Linked DNA regions of Homo sapiens: all the other regions are linked to region 1. Evidence: promoter capture Hi-C in 16 types of primary human blood cells and fetal thymus (Javierre and others, 2016). All regions are on one chromosome and are shown on one strand. Each heading gives the region's core, a stretch centred on a gene start or on the middle of the fragment in contact. The rest is flanking DNA. Distances are from core to core; before and after follow the strand shown. Region 1 holds the start of KATNAL1 (katanin catalytic subunit A1 like 1). Region 2 overlaps UBL3 (ubiquitin like 3). Region 3 has its middle 3.7 kb from the start of SLC7A1. Region 4 has its middle 17 kb from the start of LINC00545. Region 5 overlaps UBL3 (ubiquitin like 3). Region 6 holds the start of TEX26-AS1 (TEX26 antisense RNA 1).

The links. The method cuts DNA at HindIII sites, captures the fragments that hold promoters and counts their contacts. A CHiCAGO score of 5 or more calls a contact.
Region 2: a contact is called between a fragment that was not itself captured here and the fragment with the promoter of KATNAL1 in region 1, in 1 of 17 cell types (naive CD4 T cells). The highest score is 5.0, in naive CD4 T cells.
Region 3: a contact is called between a fragment that was not itself captured here and the fragment with the promoter of KATNAL1 in region 1, in 1 of 17 cell types (non-activated CD4 T cells). The highest score is 5.3, in non-activated CD4 T cells.
Region 4: a fragment that was not itself captured here is called in contact with the fragment with the promoter of KATNAL1 in region 1 in 1 of 17 cell types (neutrophils); the score reaches 5.1 in neutrophils.
Region 5: a contact is called between a fragment that was not itself captured here and the fragment with the promoter of KATNAL1 in region 1, in 1 of 17 cell types (naive CD4 T cells). The highest score is 7.4, in naive CD4 T cells.
Region 6: a contact is called between the fragment with the promoter of TEX26-AS1 here and the fragment with the promoter of KATNAL1 in region 1, in 6 of 17 cell types (M2 macrophages, endothelial precursors, neutrophils and 3 more). The highest score is 10.1, in M2 macrophages.

What each region holds. Positions count from the first base shown.
Region 1 is chr13:30,306,204-30,309,497 of GRCh38, reverse strand. KATNAL1 (katanin catalytic subunit A1 like 1) reads left to right here and starts at 1,947. Exons shown (of 11, transcript NM_032116.5): 1 at 1,947-2,167. RefSeq lists silencers at 1,943-2,172, 2,203-2,312. The HindIII fragment of the contact is 2,852 bases long and covers 1,257-3,294 here.
Region 2 is chr13:29,763,439-29,766,779 of GRCh38, reverse strand. UBL3 (ubiquitin like 3) reads left to right here. Exons shown (of 5, transcript NM_007106.4): 5 at 1-2,409. Among named protein-coding and RNA genes, the nearest start is that of UBL3, 86 kb to the left of the region's middle. The HindIII fragment of the contact is 866 bases long and covers 1,258-2,123 here.
Region 3 is chr13:29,597,776-29,601,059 of GRCh38, reverse strand. No RefSeq gene overlaps it. Among named protein-coding and RNA genes, the nearest start is that of SLC7A1, 3.7 kb to the right of the region's middle. The HindIII fragment of the contact is 6,470 bases long and covers 1-3,284 here.
Region 4 is chr13:30,864,296-30,867,781 of GRCh38, reverse strand. No RefSeq gene overlaps it. Among named protein-coding and RNA genes, the nearest start is that of LINC00545, 17 kb to the left of the region's middle. RefSeq lists an enhancer at 3,456-3,486. The HindIII fragment of the contact is 6,209 bases long and covers 1-3,486 here.
Region 5 is chr13:29,781,727-29,785,296 of GRCh38, reverse strand. The region is part of intron 1 of UBL3 (ubiquitin like 3); the gene reads left to right. Among named protein-coding and RNA genes, the nearest start is that of UBL3, 67 kb to the left of the region's middle. The HindIII fragment of the contact is 554 bases long and covers 1,901-2,454 here.
Region 6 is chr13:30,930,518-30,934,078 of GRCh38, reverse strand. It overlaps TEX26-AS1 (TEX26 antisense RNA 1), which reads left to right and starts at 1,471. Exons shown (of 4, transcript NR_038287.1): 1 at 1,471-2,833; 2 at 3,205-3,278. TEX26 (testis expressed 26) reads right to left here and starts at 1,423. Exons shown (of 7, transcript NM_152325.3): 1 at 1,303-1,423. The coding sequence starts at 1,363. The HindIII fragment of the contact is 4,425 bases long and covers 1-2,251 here.

The sequences.
Region 1 (3,294 bases), core at 698-3,197:
TACCATAAGAACAGTACGGGTGAAACCGCGCCCATGATTCAATTATCCCCACCTGGCCCTGCCCTTGACAGGTGGGAATTATTACAATAAAGTGAGAGGTGGGTGGGGACACAGCCAAACTATATCAACAGGTCATGTACGTAAGCTGCTTAATATTTATTGAGCAGCTACACTGTGGACTGAATCAAATAGAATATGAGGATACATATGTGAAAAAATATTATTTTAATAGCTGGCTCCAGAGTTCCTCTTGGGAAGTTACTTTGTGTAGGAAAAAACTTTGGTAAACAGTTTAGGAATGGCAGGTAGCTATGAAGGCACAGATTAGGAGATGGAAATAAAAGTATTGTATAAAGAGAGGAGAGGAGGGGAGAGATGGGACCAGAAAGATGGTACAATAGTGGGAGGTTACAGGTTATGATGAAAAAATGGGGGTAGGTGGTAGGTGGATAAAAATATCATGGGAGGAACTGAAGGACTTTTAAGAGCAGGGATTTCTAATTTTAGGTTTTTTGCATCCTTAATTTAAAACCACTTATCTGCTCCAAACCTTCTAAAGAGTTGGCTATAGAAACAACCAAAGAAAAGGGGCTGATTTCGAAATTATGTGTCAGCAGGAGTAGAGAGAGGAGAGTTGTAAGAGGTGATATGTGGAGAGGTCTAAGTGTTCAGGAAAAGCAAGAACTGAGAGCCAGAAGTGACGGTGCAATCCTTGAGAGGACATTGGCCGTGGGGAACACCACAAGGTGGATAAGGGACTCAGTCAAGTTCAAGAAAATCTCTGTGGTAGGATGACTCAGCTGGATTACAGGAGCCATTTTTGTTATTTTCAACCATAATTTTTCAGGAGATATTCATTACTAGAAAATGACAAGGTCACGAATTCACTCCCCTTCCTCTTTTTTTCTATTAAATTTCTGGGCCTCAGTTTTCCCATCTATAAAATCTAGAGATTGGGCCTAGAATATCTCTGTAGTTTCCATTAGAGTCTATAGCTCTAATAATAATAACAACACATTTTTATGTTCTCTTTTGAGGTAAATTTACATGCAGTGAAATGTACAAATCTTAAATGTCCCATTCCAAGAGTTTTGACAAGTGCATATACTTCTGTAACCGAAACTCTTAGCTATAGAATTTTTTCATCACTACAAAAAATTCTCTCAAACTCCTCCCCGACAGCCAACCACTATTCTGACTTTTATCACTATTGATTAAATAATTAATATTTAATAGCTATTGTTAAATGCTAAGCTTTGTTTTATAGAGCTTCATCAGTATTAATGCGTGTATTTCTTACAAGAGTTGCAAGATGGATATCTCCATTTTTGCAGATCAAAACGTTAAGAGGTGAGAAAGGCGCCTCTGGTCATCAGCTACCAAGCACAGGGGCAGGACGTGAACTAAGAATTCGTTTTAGAAGCCCACGCTCTTAACCTGTTTATCCTAGAGTCCACAAACGATTGCCAAGAAACAGCATAAATCCAAATTCAGTCGAAAGCAATGCCATTTGCAAATTCTAAAACCTCCTGAATAATCCTAAAGGCCATATGCATTCCATCTTATCGAAGGATTCCCTTCTATCCCCCTCCCCAGAGAATGGAGAAAGGGGGTGCGAAAGACTTCAATTCGGTTTGACTGGAGAAAAACACAGAGGTGGCGTAGGATCCACACATCCCTTGGGGGCAGACCCAGCGGCGGACGCCTGGACAGGCGGCGGGAAAGGCGCTGCGACGCCCCGGGTGCCCCCTCCTTCGACGCCACTGGCATCACCTCCGAAAGCAGCAGGCACGAAGGTGCCCTGCCACGGGGGCTGGACGCAGTGGAGGCAGGCTCATCAAGCACGACCAGAGCTCAGTCGGCCACACGTCCTCCTCAATGTCACTGTCTCCCTGCTCTCCCACCCCGCGCCGCTGCACCTCCCTCCCCCCGGCAACCTGGGCGGGAGTCCCAAGCTCCGCCCCAGAGCGGACTCACAGCCCCCGCGCTCCCTCCCGCGCTGCGCCCACCGCGCGGCCGCGGCTGCCATGGCAACACTACGCCGCCGCCGCCTTTTCACGCACGTCGCGAGCTAACGGACTCGGCGGCGGCGGCGGCGGCGGCCTGCGCCCCACCCGCACCCCATCTGGACCGCATCGCTGAATGTGCCCGGACCTGCGCCTTCTGGGTAATGAATCCGAGAGAAAGGGGCGAGGGCGAGACAGCAGGTGGTGGAGGGCTCTAGCCAACAGCCCCTCTCGGCCTCCCACTGCCGGAGACGCCAGGGCAGTGGGCTGCGGGGTTCCTCGGGCGCTGGCTCCCGTGCGGGGACGGGGAGGGGCGCGGGAGCGCCAGGCTCGCGGTGCATCATGGGAATTGTAGTTCAGCGACTCCTCGGGCTCGCGGTCTTGGTGGGGTAGCTCGGACTGGCGAACTACAAAGCCCGGCGGCCCCGACCGCCGGGAAAGACCGATAAACTTTGAGCGGACCGGGACAGAAAAAAAAATCTCTCTTTGTCTTGAGGGGGCTGTTGAGTGGTCGCGGACCTGGGCTCTGTGCGTTGGGAAAGGGAAGTGGAGGTGAGCCTCGGGCTTCCCGCCCTGTAGCTGGGCCCGCCCCAGTTGCAGCGCTCAGCCCCACCCCGGCTGGGCCACCGCCCTGCACAGTCTCAGGGATGAGCAGCCGCCCAAGCTGCAGGGCCTCGGGTCTTCGGCGCCTCTGACCCTCGCAGGTTGCTGCCTTTCGGTGCAGAACCGTATGTATGTCACACATTGGATGTGAGACCTGAGAAACCGTGTTTTAACAGGTTTTTCTCCTTTCCTGGATACGTTTATTTCTGGGTTAGTCATGTTTGTTTTAAAGTAGCTCAGAGGTGTTTGCATATTAAACCCATCAATTGGTAATTACTCAAAGGGCAGTAATGTTTAAAGGTTAAGTGTGGAAATAGATAAAAAGATGTCATTGCGATTATATGGTGGTATCTGGCATTTTTAACTTTTTGCATTTTTGAATTTTATTTCTTGAGGTTCAAGGTTGTGAAATGAGTGCTCCACCCCACCCCCCCCTTGCCAGCCTGAACACTGCCTACACATATTTTGATTAGTTCAGCTTTAAATTACTAGTAACTTTTAAAAACAGACTTTTTTAGCAGTAGGCAGCAATAATTCTTTGATTATTCCAGTGTTATTCAGAATTTCTCAGCATGTTTTCGGAAGGAAAAATACCATGTTTTAATTATTTAGTTAATTCTTTATATATTTTTTATGTTCAGGAGTACACTTGAGTCCTTAGAGTTGACTCAAAGACTTGCTGGTA
Region 2 (3,341 bases), core at 441-2,940, 540 kb after region 1:
AATTACTGGGCCAACTTGAGAGGAAAAAATGGAAAAGAAACTAAAATGTTGGGTGAATTCTACCAAAGTCAGCCGTGGTGGCTGCACTGGCACAGAATACTAAACTGAGTGTGACTATTTTCACTGCAACAAATGAAAAAACAAAATGTGCCTGTTTAAAGCACTCAGTAGAGGGCTGATGAAACTAATTTTTTTTCCTTTAAGACATGCACTCTTGAGTCCTACAGTAACTGAGTGTTTGTTTAGACAGCACAAGAAGGGGTGAGAGTGCGTCTCCTAGCCTTAATGTGGGAGGGTAGTTTCAGTCACTCATCGGCTTTCATTATTGTGCAGAAATATTAGAAAACCTCATTGATCAATTTTATGTATTTGAATATCAGCAAATTGAAATTTTCCATAATTATCATTAATTTGTAACCACATCCAGTGTCATGCTTACTCCTTAGAGTTCAGATGAATTCTTAAAATTAAAAAAAAACTCCATAGTACTAATTTTGTTTCTTTATATAGTTTGCGTTTGATATTAGTGCTTGCAATTGTATTAAAGTCAAAAGCTGATTTTTATGGCATACACAAGAATGCCACTTTTTCTTTTATTTCATACCAATAATTTAAAGATTGATATGCTAAAAACAATTTGCACAGCACTAAAGCATGAGCTACTTTCATCTAAACCTGTAAAAATATGAAAGATTTTTATATTTTTTCACTGGGAAGAAATTCTTCCTGGATGAAATTACAAATATGTGTAGAATATATTTAATAAAAGACTTATAAAATACCTAACTACAGGACTTAAAATATAGATTGGCGCGTAGTATACAGAACAATATTCCATATAAATAAGTTTAGCCTTTATAAAAATGAAGTTGCAGGCTGACATTACATTCTGTACTAAGTGTCAACAGCCCTTACAAACATTAAATGTAAATGGTTTCAAATGGTCAGCGTTGTTTAAATGTAATCATGTTATTTTATTCATTGTTAATGCTTTGATGAAAAGGCTTTATATGCAGTAGATCTACGAAAATATTGTTCATACTGATCAGAATTAAATTTGTATAGAGCAGAGTTTTAAAATGAATGTAAATAGCACTAAACGTTTTCTTTCTGCAACCTGTACTTACAGATTCTTCCTGTAAACTAAATAAAAAAAAAATGATAGTGCATTTTGGTGGTAATTTTAAAGGTCTTGATTAGGTCAATAATTGTTTAAGCACCGTCTCATTCATGTTTTCTACTTTCATTTCTTAAGCTTTTAAAATTCATTTAATTAATATTCTGTTGTTGTTTTGGGGAGTATTCCCAATGTATCTTTGATATTTAACCTGGTTAATTTGTGGACAGTCACAACAATGGATAGAATTATGTAGTCTCCGTTATCACTAAAATGTTATCTTCAAGAGATGTTAAATATTTATATGCTTTGTTGACTAGCTGAAATGTGAATTCTGTTAGTGTTGACTAAAGAATCTGGTAGTTGCTTAATTGGGCAATTAAACAATTTATGGCTCTATTTTGTAAAACAAACTACTGGTAATTATTTTTAATACCTATTTTCATTCTGATTACTCTTTTTTTAAGTTAAAGACTATCAGTTAATTAAGATTGAGTTTTTATGATGGTTAAAAATAATTCTCTATTGGTTTTTCAATATATTTTTCTGTGTGTTCTCAGATTATATATTTCCCTCAATTTAGAGTTTGCTAAGTGAAATAAACTGGTTCACTAGTAGAGAAAGAATTACGTCGCTTAATACCTAATATCATAGTTGTACAATATGAAAAAAAAGAATAAAAAGTAGCAGTAAAATTATATACTGAAAACACCAAAAATTTAGATGCCTTAATAGTATATACGTGAAATACTCAGCTGTCCCTTTAAAAATAATTCCTTGGACTGCCTGGTGGTTAAAATACGATTCCTCATATCCAAGGCTACTTTTGAAGATCCCTCTGCCAAAAATATAGCTCACTTATCTAAAGGTGAGAGCTGCATAGATCCAGTAATGTACATAAAGCCTGAATGATGAGCCTATGTCCCTGCCTAACGCTGGTGTCTCACTCATCTCTTTTACCTAAATTGTCCTGAACTTTGTTAAGTGTTCTGGACAAGGCCAAGCTTTTCTTTATTAAAACCTCAGCATGTCTCCCTGATCTGAACTATTTGCTTTCTCTTCAAGATAAGTTGTATTTTACCATGGAAAAATACAGTATCTAACATTACCATTCACGTTAAATGAAGTTTCCTCATAACATTTATCTTTAGTTTTATGAAGTCATCGTGACCAATGTTACAGTAATTTCTGTTAGCTGATTGTGGTAAACAATGTTTAATGTGAAAAGAAATTAAAACTTTCTTCATCTGTTGTAGAATATTTCTCTTCTTTAAAATGGCTTCTATTCATAATTCTGGTGTATTTGCCTATTCTTTATTTCACTACTGTTTATGTCTTTTTTTCTTTCTTCAGTTAATGATACTCTTCAGTAAAAATCAACATTGAGCCAGCCTTTGCTATAGTTTAGCAAAATCAAAGGGAAGTATCAGCCAAAATTTAATATGCCTTCATACCGTTTTTATTTGTAACTTTTTCGAGCATTCCAGTTTGTTTTCCATTTTTGTGTTATAATATGGTCACTTGTTAGCCAAATGGAGTGATTGGGGTGGAGTGATTGGGGTGGGGGAGAAGGCACATGACCTATAATTACAAACACAGCTATAATTGAAACACAGCTGCAGGCTGTGCTGGAGTCTAGGCACAGTTTTTGTGGCCAGGGTAGGGTGGGGTTCTTGGGTGTGAGCAGTGGTAGTTGGGTGTGACTCCTGGCTTACCCTGACCCCCTGCCAGTTGGTGTGTTTCCTTCAGAAGGCAGTGGCTTCTATGAGGCTTTTACACAGGAGGTGGTTGACTTCTGAAAGAGATCATGGATAGAACTAAATGAGAAACACTTAGTTCTTAAATATCAGAGTTTAAAGCAGTACTGAAATGTGAAAACCAATTTCACTTACTACATTATTTTATAGTCTTCGACAGTGATGTCAGATGTTTGTCTTTTAATATTTTTCATATTCCTCTTTTTCAAAATGACAGCTTTCAAGAAATATGGAGTAGGCATAGTAAATTCCCATTTGGGGAAAGGAAATGCCCATCTCTTCCACGTGAGTCAACCAATAAAAAAGGAGTTGGGTAAACACATTTTCTAAAATGGCTCTGGAAGTGGTTTGTTGTTAGAAGTCTTAGAAGAGTCTGGCTGGTTTTAGAATGTAGTAATTACACATTCAAACATTATTTGGTATCTTTTATTTTCTACACATGTTCTTGAAGCTTATTTGATGTAAGG
Region 3 (3,284 bases), core at 56-2,555, 710 kb after region 1:
GTCCCTGCCACCATGCCTGGTTAATTTTTGTATTTTTAATGCAGACGGGATTTCGCCATGTTGGCCAGGCTAGTCTTGAACTCCTGACCTCAGGTGATCAGCCTTTTGGCTTCCCAAAGTGCTGGGAGTACAGGCATGAGCCAGCGCACCTGGCCAATACTGATACATTATTATTAGCTAAATTTCATAGTTTACATTACAGTTTATTCTTTGTATTGTACGTCCTATGGGTTTTGACAAATGCTGGATGACATGTATCCACCATTACATTATCATACAGAAGTTATACAGTCCTAAAAATCCCCTGTGCCCCACCTATTCATCCTTCCCCTCACAAGCCCCTGGCAATTACTGATCTTTTTACTGTCTCCACTGTTTTGCCTTTTCCAGAACATCATATAGTTGAAATCACATAGTATGTAGCTTTTTCAGATTGGCTCATTTCACTTAGAAACATGTATGTTTCCTCCATGTCCTTTCGTGGCTCAATACATTGTATGGATGTACCACAGTTTGTTCACCTACCTACTGAAGGACAGTTTGATTGCTTCCAAGTTTTGGCAATTATGAACAAAACTGCTATAAATATCGCTGTACAGGTTTTTGTGTGGACATACATTTTCAATGCATTTGGATAAATACCAAGGAGCCTGACTGCTAGATAGTGTGGTGAGACTATGTTTAGTTTTGTAAAAAACTGTCACATTGTCTTCCAAAGTGGCTGTACTGTTTCGCATCCTCACTGGCAATGAATGAGAGTTTGTTGCGCCATATCCTCGCCCGCATTTGATGCTGCCAATGTTTTGGATTTTAGTTATTCAATAGTTGTGTAGTAGTATCTCTTTGCTTTAATCTGCAATTTCTCCGATAGTATATGATGTTAAATATTTTTCCATATGCTTATTTGTTATATGTGTATTGTCTTTGATGAAGGGTCTATTCAGATCTTTTGTCTATTTTTATTTATTTATTTATTTATTTATTTATTTATTTTTGGGACAGCATTTCACTCTTGTCGCCCAGGCTACAGTGCAATGGCGTGCTCTTGGCTCACTGCAACCTCCACCTCCCAGGTTCCAGTGATTCTCCTGTATCAGCCTCCCAAGTAGCTGGGATTACAGGTGCCTGTCATCATGCATGGCTAATTTTTTGTATTTTTATTAAAGACAGGGTTTCACCATGTTGGCCAGGCTGGTCTCAAACTCCTGACCTCAGGTGATCCACCTGTATCGGTCTCCCAAAGTGCTGGGATTCCAGGCGTGAGCCACCGCGCCCTGCTGTGTTTTTAAAGTGAGGTGTTTTCTTATTACTCAGTTTTAAGAGTCCTTTGTGTATTTTGGATACCAGTCCTTTATCAGATATGTATTTTGCAAAGATTTTCTCCCAGCCTGTGGCTTGTCTTTTCATTGCCTTAACATTGTCTTTGCAGACCAGAAGGTTTTAACTTTAATGAAGGCCAACTTGGCAATCATTTCTTTCATAGATAATGCTTTTGCTGTTGTATCTAAAAAGCCATTGGTAGATTTCCTCCTATGTTATCTTCTAAGCATTTTATAGGTTTGTGTTTTACATTTAGGCCTATGATCTGTTTTGAGTTAATTGCTGTGTAAGATGTTAAAGTCTGTGTCTAGATTTATTTTTTGCATGTGGCGGTCCAGGTCCAGTTGTTCCAGGACCATTTGTTGAGGAGACTATCTTGTCTCCATTGACTTGTCTTAGCCACTCTGGATCAGCTATTTGTGTGGGTCTAGGCTACTGTTTGGGTTTCGATGTTTGTGCCCTCCAGACCTCATGTTGAAATTTGATCCCCAATGTTGAAGGTGGAACCTAATGGGAGGTATTTGGTTCACGGGTGTGGATCCTTCATGAAATGTCCTTCCTGGGGGTAGGTGGGACGGGGAGATGAATTTTCACTCTATTAGATGACTCTGGAGCTGGTTATTTAAAGGAACCGGGCCCTTCTCTCCTCTCCCTCTTGCTTATACTCTTGTCATGTGATCTCTGCACACACGCACACTCCCTTTCATCTTTTGCCATGAGTGGAAGCAGCCTGAAGCCCTCTCCACATGCAGATGTCCAATCTTGAACTTTCCAGCCATTAGAATTGTGAGCCAAATAAACCATTTTTTCTTTATAAATTACCCAGACTCGAGTATTCCATTATAGCAATACAAAACAAACTAAGTCTATTTCTGAGCTCTATATTCTGTTCATCTTTATACACATTTTTCATCCTTACCATGAAGTTCGTATGTATCCAGCAGGTAGTAAAATTCTTATTTCGAAAATGAGGAAACTGAGGCACAGAGTGAGCAGGGCCCCTCTCCCCAGGCCAGCAGCTGGTTAGAATTGAAACCCACATCTGCCTGGCTTTGATTCTGTGCACTTTCCTTGCCCCCAAGGTGCCTAATGGTGCTAGAAAGAGACTTAGTATGTCAACCTTAACCTTAGATGTTGCTCTCTAGGGCCTAAATTGTAGCATCTCCCTTTCTTAATGGTTGCTGGAATCTTGGGCAGCTGCTCTTTGATTGTAATCAAGGCTGCCTGTCACTCACGGTTTCTCTGAACCTGTAATGTGAGTCTTGACCTGCCTAAAAACTGGCTTTGCTTAAAACATGTAGCCCTCTTTATCAGCATCCTCTAATGTTTTGCTGAGATCTTGTGCGTAACTATTTTTTCCCTGGTTCATACTGAATCCTTTTTGCTGAGAAGTCACTTGCTCATGGGGCTTGTCTTATTGTCTTTTTGAAGACAGGACCTTGCTGAGTGGGATTGCTAAACGGAGCACAGTGCTAAAAATCTCCTGGGTTAAATGTCACCATACTCCCATCAGGGCCTGGAGCACTTGCTCTCAGAATTTACAAACATTAACTCATGTTGGCGCTCTGTGTTGCCCAAGGAGAGCATCTCTACAATTTATGAAATTCTATTTTACTGCCAGAAGTCAGCAAAGAGAAAAAGAAAGAAAGAGAGGCAGAAAGAGAAAATTCCACAGTCATATTTCAAACACCAAGGGATAGATTTTTTTCTTAAGAATATAAGATTTACAAGCTCCAAACAGGAGTGAAATAGTTTGCAGAAGCTCTCACAGCAAATGAACTGGTAGAGTTCAGATTCAAATCCTGATCTGGTGCCAAGGGCAAAGCAGGTGGTCTTTAATCCTACCAGGCTTCTCTCTGTGAGAAGGGGACATGCTTACTGTGGCCTCAGCAGACAGAGTAGGCTGCGTGGGATCTGGGAGATCTTCTGTGAATGGAAGGCATCATTTCACCACTGTGCAATTG
Region 4 (3,486 bases), core at 688-3,187, 560 kb before region 1:
TTTTCATTTCCTTGCTAAGGGAGTCTATGCAAGCTCTCTCTGGAAATCCTTTGAAATGGCTTAGAGACCTGATGTAGCTAGAATGAGTTTGGAGGAATCCAACATGAAGGTAGCCCAATACTAGGTTGCAAACAGGCTAGATGCTTTTGGGTTTGTAGACATGTTTGATTTGGAACTCCCAGTGTTTTACATGAAAATCCCAAATTCTGGCTTCTTTTGAAAAACCAGTTGATATGACAACCCAAGCCTTTCTGCCCCAGTTGGCCACAGTCCATGCTGGAGCAGGGTCAGCCTGCCTCCTTGGACAGGGCCGGCACACTCCACTTGGCCTCAGCCCCTCCAGCCAGCTTACCTACTGATGTTACCTTCCTGGGCTCTTTAGGCATATGAATTAGTGACCTCAGATGACACTGGTAGGGTCAACCTTTCAAACGTGCACCTTTCCACTTAGCCAAAATCTGAGCTATGCCAGACATTTTGTTAGATAGCATCAGAGCACGGACTAGAAGCTGAATTGCTCTTGCAGTGAAAGGACTGATTCCCACACTCCTATTTTATCCCTACATGAAAACATGGCAAAATCAACTTTCCTTCTTGCTTACCTTCTAGGAAAATCAGAAGTATTCACCAGGTGTTGAAATAGAAACTTATTTCTTATAATTGCCAACTTTGCTGCACTGAGTCACATGTTGATTTCTACCTAATGAAAAATCCAGAGCAGGCTGGAGTCTGACAGATAGAGCCCGATTCGCTATTTACTCTGGTGCTAATCACAATCATGTTTACAGGAAAATGCCCTCATCTGCTTCCAGCAGCTCCAGCCACTCAGCCATGTGAGCGCTGTCTTCAAAGTCAATTGCCTGTCATTTTGCTGATTTATGTTGAGCAACTGCAAGGACCCCTCGAGGTATTTGTAGCTAGCTTGATGATTCCCAGCTTATAAAGTGGCAGTGGGCAGAGCATTTCAGTTCAAATTCCCATCAAGACAGAATTTAAATCCCCAGCCCTGCTGCTCATATTTGCAATGTGAGCACTTTAGATAAGCAGAAACCATCAAACCCTAAATGCTGGGGGAAATACAACCTGGATTTCTTCAAATGGAGCCTAAGCCCAAATCTTCTTTCAGACCTTGGATAGGAAAGTGATTCTAACAGTTTTTAAAAGAGTGATCACATATGCTTTTTCCCAAGAAGTATTAACGACTGAGGCAAGACGGGCACTATCAGATTAGATTGGAGAAGCCGGGAAACGAATTTCCCTCACCGCCTGCCTGGATTCTTAACGTTTCAACCAGCAGAATCTAATTTCTTTGGAATTACTTGCCCTCTAACAGAAGTTTTCTTTTTAAAATGAAAATATTGCCGAAAAGGGAGACCTATTAAATTACTAACCCATTAGCTTCTGGTTTAGCTTCAATCTTAGAGAAGCCCAATTCCTTCTAAACCTGTCTCGCCCTACACTGAAAGTGCTGGAGGTGCAGATCTCAGTGCACTGGCCTTGGCTGCTGAGATTCAGGGAGGTTAGATGGCGGGTAGAGTCACCCATGCGCTGTGGGATGGGGGTCCCTTCCATGCACTCTCCTGGCAAGTCCTGAACCACCAAAGGTGTAAGTGGATGTATTTTTCAGGTTCTCCCTTACAGCACTTTGAAGTCAAACACAAGATTTAAGGATTGCTCACAGCCTGCATTTTCTGTATTTCTGCATTTCTTGTTCACTCAACGTCTCAGGTATTTAATTACATACTCACTGTTAGGGCTCAGGGAAGCTGTTTAGAGGTTCAGCTCAGCCCCTTCGGGTCACAAAACTGAAATACAGTGACTTCCCCAAAGTCAGCAAAGCTCAAGGATCCTTAAGAACCCAGACATGTGAGATACTGAGTAATCCAAACTGAGGCCAACTCCAAAAAAGGGCTCCATTGACTCATCTTTCGGTCATCTCGCTCCAGCTCTCACTTAGAGAAAGTGCGTATTTCTTCCATTTAGAAAAGACTGCTCACGCTTTCCATGTCATTACATTTCTTTATTCCTCTCTTTATATTCCAGCTGCCTTTCTTCGTGTTTTTTGTCACTTGCCCTATTTAGCCATCTCCAAACTAGCTACCTGCCTCCGTGCCATGGAGCATGCTTTTCTGCAGCTCGGCCTCACGATTCTAGGCCAGCTTTTGCACCCCCTACCCCCTCCATGCTTATAAAACTGGGTTCCCTGCTCCCTTTCTGTGTGCTGTTATGCTTCAGAAGCGCCACTGGGTGGCAGTGTCTCAGAGCAGTCCTGGGCCCTGCAACGTGGCTTTGGGCTGGGCTGCTGGTTGCTTGTCTGTTACAGCACAAACAGGCCTGTGTGGACAGGCAGAGCAACGAGACAGCCACAGTGGTGCTCTGGAAAGGATGAGTATTAGATATTAAGGAAACGAGGGACAGAGGTCTGCGTACTGTGTCCTTTCGGAGCTTGCACTAGCCACAAGGCTGACATCTGCCGTCATTCTAACAAAGGAATCTCAAATCCTGAGGCTGTTTGGGAGGTGTCCTTGAAAAGAATGACTATAACCCTTTGCCCTCCCTGTTTTGATTTTCAGCCTACCATTGGGCCCTGATTCATCCATAAAAACAACAACCAAAAAATAAAAAAAAAAGGCAATCCCCGTGAGCATTGTGTGTTTGCTGGACAGGATAGTAATGGCTTAATCCTTCTAATGGCTTTGGTCACTGCAGGATATTAGCTATTAGAAGGGTCTGTTTAAAAGGGGGTGGTGGGGGAAGGTAGGGCCATCTGCTGATTATAGCATGCATGAGGAATGAAGGGAACATTTAAAGAGACACCGTCCATTGATTTAGACACAAATAATTAGTTTGTAGTTGAAAAGGCATATTTAGGGCTTGAATTTTAGTATCTGAATCATTTGCTTAAAGTGCAAATGTGATGTCTCAGACTGGAGATGATCCCAGGAACTATTTGATTCCACCTTTCATGCTTTTTGTAAAGAACTTCTCCGGAGACTAAAAGGAATGTGGCCTGAAATGCATCAACATTGACGTCATGGCTTGGAGTCTGTGGAAGTCAAACCAAATGTTTTTATTATAAACAGGTCAGCCCAGGACCAAACTGTGAAGTACATGTTTGATTTCCATGTGTCCCACCCCCAGCCCCAGCCTTGGCCTCTGCACAGAAAATAGTTCCCAACATCCCACCAGGTGGCCCAGCCCCCTCCTCACTGACTCCCCACTTCACCTTCCCTTCCAGGCCTGACAGCAAACTAAAGCAAAAGAAATCTTCCCAAGGATCGTGGCATATTAGGAAATGAATGCACGCTCTCCATTCAGGAAAGCTGGGGGCAGGCCAACCTCACCTCCCAAACGGGAAAAGCCTAGACTAGAGGTGAGCAGAGACCTGGCTTCCCCTCTAGGCCAGGCCCTGGGTCCATAGGCAACAACTGTTCTGGGAAGTGGGAATTTTATACAGCAATTCAATGAGAAGGAAGATGTGGAGGG
Region 5 (3,570 bases), core at 928-3,427, 520 kb after region 1:
GAAATCCCCAACACTGTTCACCCAGTTTTCCCTAATGGTAACATCTTACATAATCACAGTGCAGTATCACAACAAGAAATTGATAATGATAGGCCAGGCATGGAGGCTCATGCCTGTAATTCTAGCACTTTGGGAGGCTGAGGCAGGTGGATCACCTGAGGTCAGGAGTTCAAGACCAGCCTGGTCAATATGGTGAAACCCCATCTCTACTAAAAATACAAAAATTAGCCGGGCATGGTGGCGTGCACCTGTAGTCCCAGCTACTTGGGAAGCTGAGGCAGAAGAATTGCCTGAACCCGGGAGCCGGAGGTTGCGGCGAGCCGAGATCCCGCCACTGCACTCCAGCCTGGGTGACAGAGTGAGACTCCGTCTCAAAAGAAATTGGTAATGATAAAATTCACAGACTTTATTAATATTTGTCCAGTTTTATATGCATTTATTTGTGTGTGTGTGTGTGCATGTGTGTATGTGTTTAGTTCTATGCAGTTTTATCACAAATAGATTCCTGTACCAACTACTACAGCCAAGATACAGGACAGTTCCATCACAAGGATTCTTTGTGCTACCCTTTTATAGGCAAAGTAACCCTTCCTGTCTCCCCTTCCAGCTGGCCATTCTCCATCTCTATAATTTTGTCATTTCAAGAATATTGTATAAGTGGGATCATATAGTATGTTACCTTTTAAGCATAATTCCCTTGATATAAGTCGGGAGTTGTTTTTTTTTTTTTCCAAAGATTTGCAAAAAGGGTCTAATACCTTTCCCACTGGCTACCTGCTGCTTGTTGCCATTTAGCAAAGAAGGCAGGAATGAGCAGTAGAAAGGCAAAGGGTGCTTCTGTTGATGGTTTTCCCTAAGGAAGACTGGCATGTGAAGTAAGAGTATCCCAATACTCATTTTATTCTTAAGAGATTCTCAGAGGAGAAGTGGGAATTCTTTTTCTGATCAACGTATTTGTCTTTTGGTAGAAAACAGCCTTTTTAAAGGGCATGGTCCATCTCTGTAATTATATTTTATATCCAAAGACCATTCTAGTCAGTTCCATCTTCCATCCTCCCTCTTTCTTTCCCGTCATTTTTTTCCATCCTGACCAACTAAAAACATATTATTTTATAAACTAAGTTCTATATGTAATTTCCCCAAATTGATACTATCTAACAAATAGAAATGGCAGTTTGACTAAAAATGGTTCTAACTTGAAATTACATGCATTGAAGAGTTCTTGTTGTATCCATTGGCCTTACAGGAAATCATCATGGTAGTTCTGCCTCACTAATAGTCTTGTCTGATTTGTTTTGTCTCAAAAGTAAATATAAAAAATATATAATTCATTTGAATGATCTAAATGCCATCTCTTAGGAACTTTACTACATAATAGCTCTCATACCAAGTCAGAGTCCTTATTACCAGTTTTCTTTTAGACAGGTATGTACACAAAGTATATAACATTTTAAGCTGTAAATAAGTCTTATTTTTAACCCATTATTGATGTGTCAAGGATCCCATTACCCTACAAGCAGAGGTTTTTAAATGTATTTTATACTTAGACTTAGCTTGGCTTCAAAGAAGTAAAAAGGCCTTTCACTAATAAATATTTAAGTAATAAGTACTTAATATTTTAAAGGAACAAGCTCACATTTATAGAAATTGTCATACATTTACTGAGAGGAGCTACAATTAACATTATTTATCTGAATAAGCCCTGGAAGATTCTTATTATAGCATAGGAACAATTAACTAATAACCAGCCCGGTATCCAGTTATCTGCGTGATTGCTTTCAAGATTTCTTCTAAAGGAAATTATGGGAATCCAGTGTTTTTCTCCATCTTTCTTACAGTCCTAAGGTATACTTGACAAGCATACTGAGGCAGATTCATGGCTCTAGTCTAGTAGCAAGCTTGTCTCATAGATATAAGCATAGGCCCAATTAAGACCAATCTGTTAATTGTCTATATCTATTAACCTAGTCCGTTTGAAAAGTAGACCCAAATGTATACGTTAATACGGTAACTTAGAATTAATTTTACTTTTCAAAATACCTGACTAAATGATAGCATTTATGTTAACTCTGGCATGTTGCTGACAGTAAAGATCCAGAGCCCAAAACAAATTAAAGATTGAGGTGTTCACGCATTTGAACTATCTGCATGACCACAGCACTACCAAGAAACAATTATTATCCATTCCTGTTCTACATACTATGCCACTCATTCAATACAATGCCAGAATGCTGAAGCCTAGGTTTGAATCAGCTCTGACCTTTCTAGTCTGCACTTTCAGTTGCATCTTAAAACTGAAAAAACAGAAATATTAGTCAACAGTTACTGGCTGAGCACCTACTACTATGTGCCAAACACTGATCCAGGCACTGGATGTTTCAGGCAAGAGTTACTTTACTCAGCAGTGCAGTGCTGTGGGTTTATTGTTGCTCTTTTCAATTTTGGACATAAGCTTCTTTCCTGAAGCAGTTTTGCTATAAGACTTGATAAATTTTTAGACTTATGTATTTACACAGTTACTGTTGCAGTTGTCATTTTCTCCCCCTTCCCCACCCAGAAGGGTGATTAGGTTTCCTCTGAGTAGAAGATTTTAAAATCTTAACCTGCTTTTTGTTCTCATTTTATACTTCCAAACTACTTTCAAACTCTACTGTGAGTTAACAAACTCAAATGTTTTCTGGAACTAGGCAGTTTCCTGAGTGTCTGAAGCAGGCCAGGGGGAGTAAGGAGGGAGTAGTAGGGTCTGTGTCAAACCGAAGATTCATACCCACCTATAAACATTAAAATAATATTTTTTAAATTTGGTTCAAACATATTTAGAGGCTATGAGTTTCCAACATTCTGAACATCTAGATAAATATGAACTCTTTAGACCATTGATTTTTGAAATATGAAAGTGTAATATCAGTTTATTGGCAACTGTGATGTGTGTTAGTTTTAAATTAGGAAATGCTGAGAATTTTGTGGCAGGAACCCAGTTAAATTTATGGAGTACAGTATGTGTGTCTTGTTTTGTCTTGTTTTGGTTTGGTTTGGTTTTCCTCTCACAAGCTTTTAAGCTTGTGAGTGGAAAAAAAGAGATTGGGAATGTTCAAAGATAATTGAACATTATCTAGAACATCTAGAACAAGGACATCTAGAACAGAAGGTCTTAGGTTCAATGAATAGTCTTCAAAGGATCCATGAATATCTTATAACTTTATTTTTAAATGTTGTATTTCTATATTTCTGTGCTTAATGTTTTCTATAAAAAGTAGGCTTTGTTGATTTATGTTTATTTTATTTTTTTTTTTAGAGATGGGGTCTCATTCTGTCACCCAGGCTGGAGTGCAATGGCATGATCATTGCACTGTATCCCCACAGCCTCGAACTCTGGGTGCAAGTAATCCTCCTGCCTCAGCCTCCAGAGTAGCTAGTACTATAGGCATGTGCCACCACACCTGGCTTTTTTTTTTTTTTTTTTTTTTTAATTTTTTGTAGAGACAGGGTCGCAATTTGTTGCCTAGGCTGGTCTCAAACTCCTGGCCTCAAGCTGTCCTCCTGCTTCAGTCTCCCAAAGTGCTGAGATTA
Region 6 (3,561 bases), core at 222-2,721, 630 kb before region 1:
GTGTGATTTTGCACATGTCAAGTTGGAGGCCCTGCTGTGACACCCACATGGAACTGTCTGGTAGACAGTTAGATATTCTGGTCTGAAAAAGTAGGAAGAAAGTCCAAGTCAGAGATAAAGGTTAGAGAGTTGTTGGCACCTTTATGCAGCACTTGAAGCCCTGTGCAGGATATGGTCACAAAGAGAAGGTAAGCCTAGAAGGATCAATCCTGGGGGACTCCAACAGTTCCCAGACAAGAAGGGGATGAAATGGGGAGACAGTGGGAAAACAGGGTGGTTAGAAAGGGAAGAGAAGCATCCAAAGGGGTGCTGTCGGGATGCTAGGAGGGGATCCTCCCTCCTCTGTCTCTCCTGTTTGCCTTCCCATCATATAGAAACTGAGTGTATTAGATATTTTCTGCACTAATTAAGTATTTTCATTTTCCATTCTTAATTTACAACGGAATGAATTGGAATGAAAATATGCATTTCATTCACTCTTTTGGGAGCACAATTCTAGGGAATTTGTACTTGAACAATCCTTCACTGCTCCATAGCCACTGTGGAATCACAGTTACCCAACTATACAGCAGCAATGGCCAATTATTGCCACAAGAGACTATGATGGAGCTGACTACACGGTAATCATGCCACTAGCGTCACAGCTAGAGTGGTTCTCCCTCCACAGACCCAAAAGGCTGAACTGGTGAACCTGCTGCATCTGTGGGCAGAATTAGGATGAAAAGCACTACCTCTGTGAAATACAAAATCTCTGTGGAAGAAAAATCAATTCAGGTTAGAGGCGGCAGCTGAAGGCCATGGCTCCCAGCCTGGTGCGACAGCCCAGGGAGGGCGTCTGCCTCTGCAGACACAGCTGGGACTCCATTCAGCAGCCAACCCTTCCCCCACTTTCCTTGCTGTTTCCAAGATCCTATATGGGGATCGGGACTCAGGCAGGACCTGTTCTCTTCAGAGCTTCCAGGACTTCTCTTTCTTCTTTGCCTTTGGCCCTGTTTTCCTTGGAAAATCACCAGTTCTTCCTTTTTTCCTGTCCCCTCTTAGCCAGGCACTTCCTCGAGTGTTTAAAAACCCTGCGCGTTTTAGGGAGCGGGGATTTGGCAAAGGTTATGCGAAGGACTGAAAAGGGGCAGCGTCATGAAGGCCCTGTCATTCTCCCTGACTCCCCGTCTTTTCCTCAGTTGAGCATACTCCTAAGAGCGATGCCACACCCTTAAATACTAAGGCCCCTTTTTCTCAACAGGACCCTTTCCCCGGGAAAGACCCCAGCCCCGCCCCGCAGACCGGCAGAGTCTGCTGTCTTACTTGGCTGGAGGTTGTGGTGGCAGAGAGAGGGATCCGGAGCCCTGGGCCCAGGCTGTTCCATTCTGCCCCAGGAGGCGGCCGCGGGGCCCTGGCTCCAGCTATCTCAGCGCTTGCGGGAGCCGCGGGCTGCTTTGTGACGCGTCGCCATGGAGACAAGGATCGGGTTCCAGGGAGTTCTGCCCCTGCCAAGGGGTGCTGGCCACGCAGGAGGCTTAACCTGGCCGGCGCGGGAATGGGGTGCAGAGAGCAAAGAAATGTGGCTTTGATCTTATGGATGCCTTACTTTTACATTATTTGTACAGTTCTTGCAGTGAGCTTTCCGGACCACTGTCTTGTATGTTTCCTAAGAAAAGCAAAAAGGGAAGAGATTGAAGAGAAAGTAGATTTTCAACTACAAACTTTCATCCATTTGCTTTCAGCTTAAGCAAATGTGCGCAAAGTTGTCATGGATTTTTGCAGTCAATAAAAACCAAGCAAGAAGACTGAATCCCAAGTCATCTGGTATAAATGGAAGCAGTTTCTGTGATAGTTCCACGCGGTCAGAAGGGTCATCCTGGCTTAGGAGAGGGGCAGAAGAGGAAATGCACGCGTGGAAACAGGAGTGGGCAGGGAGGATGTGACACTGTCCTCCTCACCAGGCCACGTTCCTGGCACCAACCATAGTGTTTGTGAGGGTCAATTTAATTGTTCTTGTGCTCTCATAGAGGAAGCTGTGTCTTTCATCCCCTTGTAAGAGTTTTCACTGATGAAGGGGGTCTTTTATCTTCATATCTTGGGAACTACTGAAACTGTTTCAAAGAGTCAAAGACACCAATAACTAACAGAAATTCTTGTTTTCAGGGGCAGATAAGAAAAGAAACAATTTGCTGAAACTCCCTCTGCTTATAACAAAACTGACTGAAATCAGCCGGAATCAATATGGCCAAATGCAGTTTGCGCACAGCAAGCTTGCTGATGTCACAGCCTGAATTTCTACTGCATGTTTCATACCAACTCCCTCCAAATTTGCACATGGGACCCACCAGGAAGCATGAAGAGAGAGCCATGCATGCCTGAAGACTTCCCAGATGTTCCCTTTGCTTCCACCAATCACCTGCTAACCCCAGGATCCAACCCTAAACCTTTTGTAATAAAATTACTGCCCTAAAGCCAGTACAAGACAGATTTGAACTGGACTTTTGTTTCCTCAGAAGTTAACTTGCAATGTGAAGCTTTCCTTTTCTCAAAAACTTGGTGTCATAGTGTTGGCTTCTAGTGCAGTGAGCCCCTTTTGCTGGATAACCTTACCTGGTAATTTGACATACTAGGTGGTTAGTAACTACTGACTGTCTCCAGGTTACAACACAGTTATTACCCACTTGGGTGAAAAGAGAAGACAGGAAATACATTTTGGAGTTGGCTGGCAACCTGTTTACAAAGCAATTTACAACAGTTCCTTATTCTTAAGGGGCTATTCTAATACAAGACCTCAGAGAAACAGTGCAGTGTGACAAAGGAGGAATTTATCAAAGGAGACAGAAAAAGCATCAAGGTAAGGATCCCAAATATATGTGCAAGGAATGTCTTTAAAATGAAGAGCTAAACTAGAATTTCCTGAAGGTAGAGTTCTATCCATATAATGGAATGAATATAACACATTATAAACTCTCATGTTTTGAAGCAATGGAGGGTGGAACACATTAGAAGGCATAGATGTTATTAAAAGGAATGAGTCTAAATTAGGATTTAGTAGTGGCATCTAAATTTAAAAAGTAGCACCCAATAACAGATTACTGTCTGGAAATGGTAGAGCTAATTAGCATAGCATAATTTAAGAGAAATATATGTTTAAAATAGAGCAGCAAGTATATAGAATTTTGAAAGTGAATTCTTATTAATATCTTACAATTTGTCTCATTTTAGGCAAGCTGTGAAATGGTGCGGTAGGAACCAAATAGAGAGCCAAAGGATCTTTCTGTCACTGCAGGCCCTTAGGGGTAAGCAAATCCTTCCCTGATCCCTGGTCTCCTTATCTGTAAATGAGAATACCAGCACCCACCTCACTGTGCTGTAAACATGATGAGTTCTAACAATAATTTATAAATTGTAAAATCACACAAATCTAAGATATTGCTCTTGTTGCTATTCTGATCTTCATTCCTTTTATAGTCTTTCTACTTCAAAGTGTATTTTTGCGTGGGTCCATTTTATGGCTAGCGGTATAGCACTATTCCTGCCTTTGAATTCTGGTTGCCTGAGGCAACCCTTCTAAATGATTAA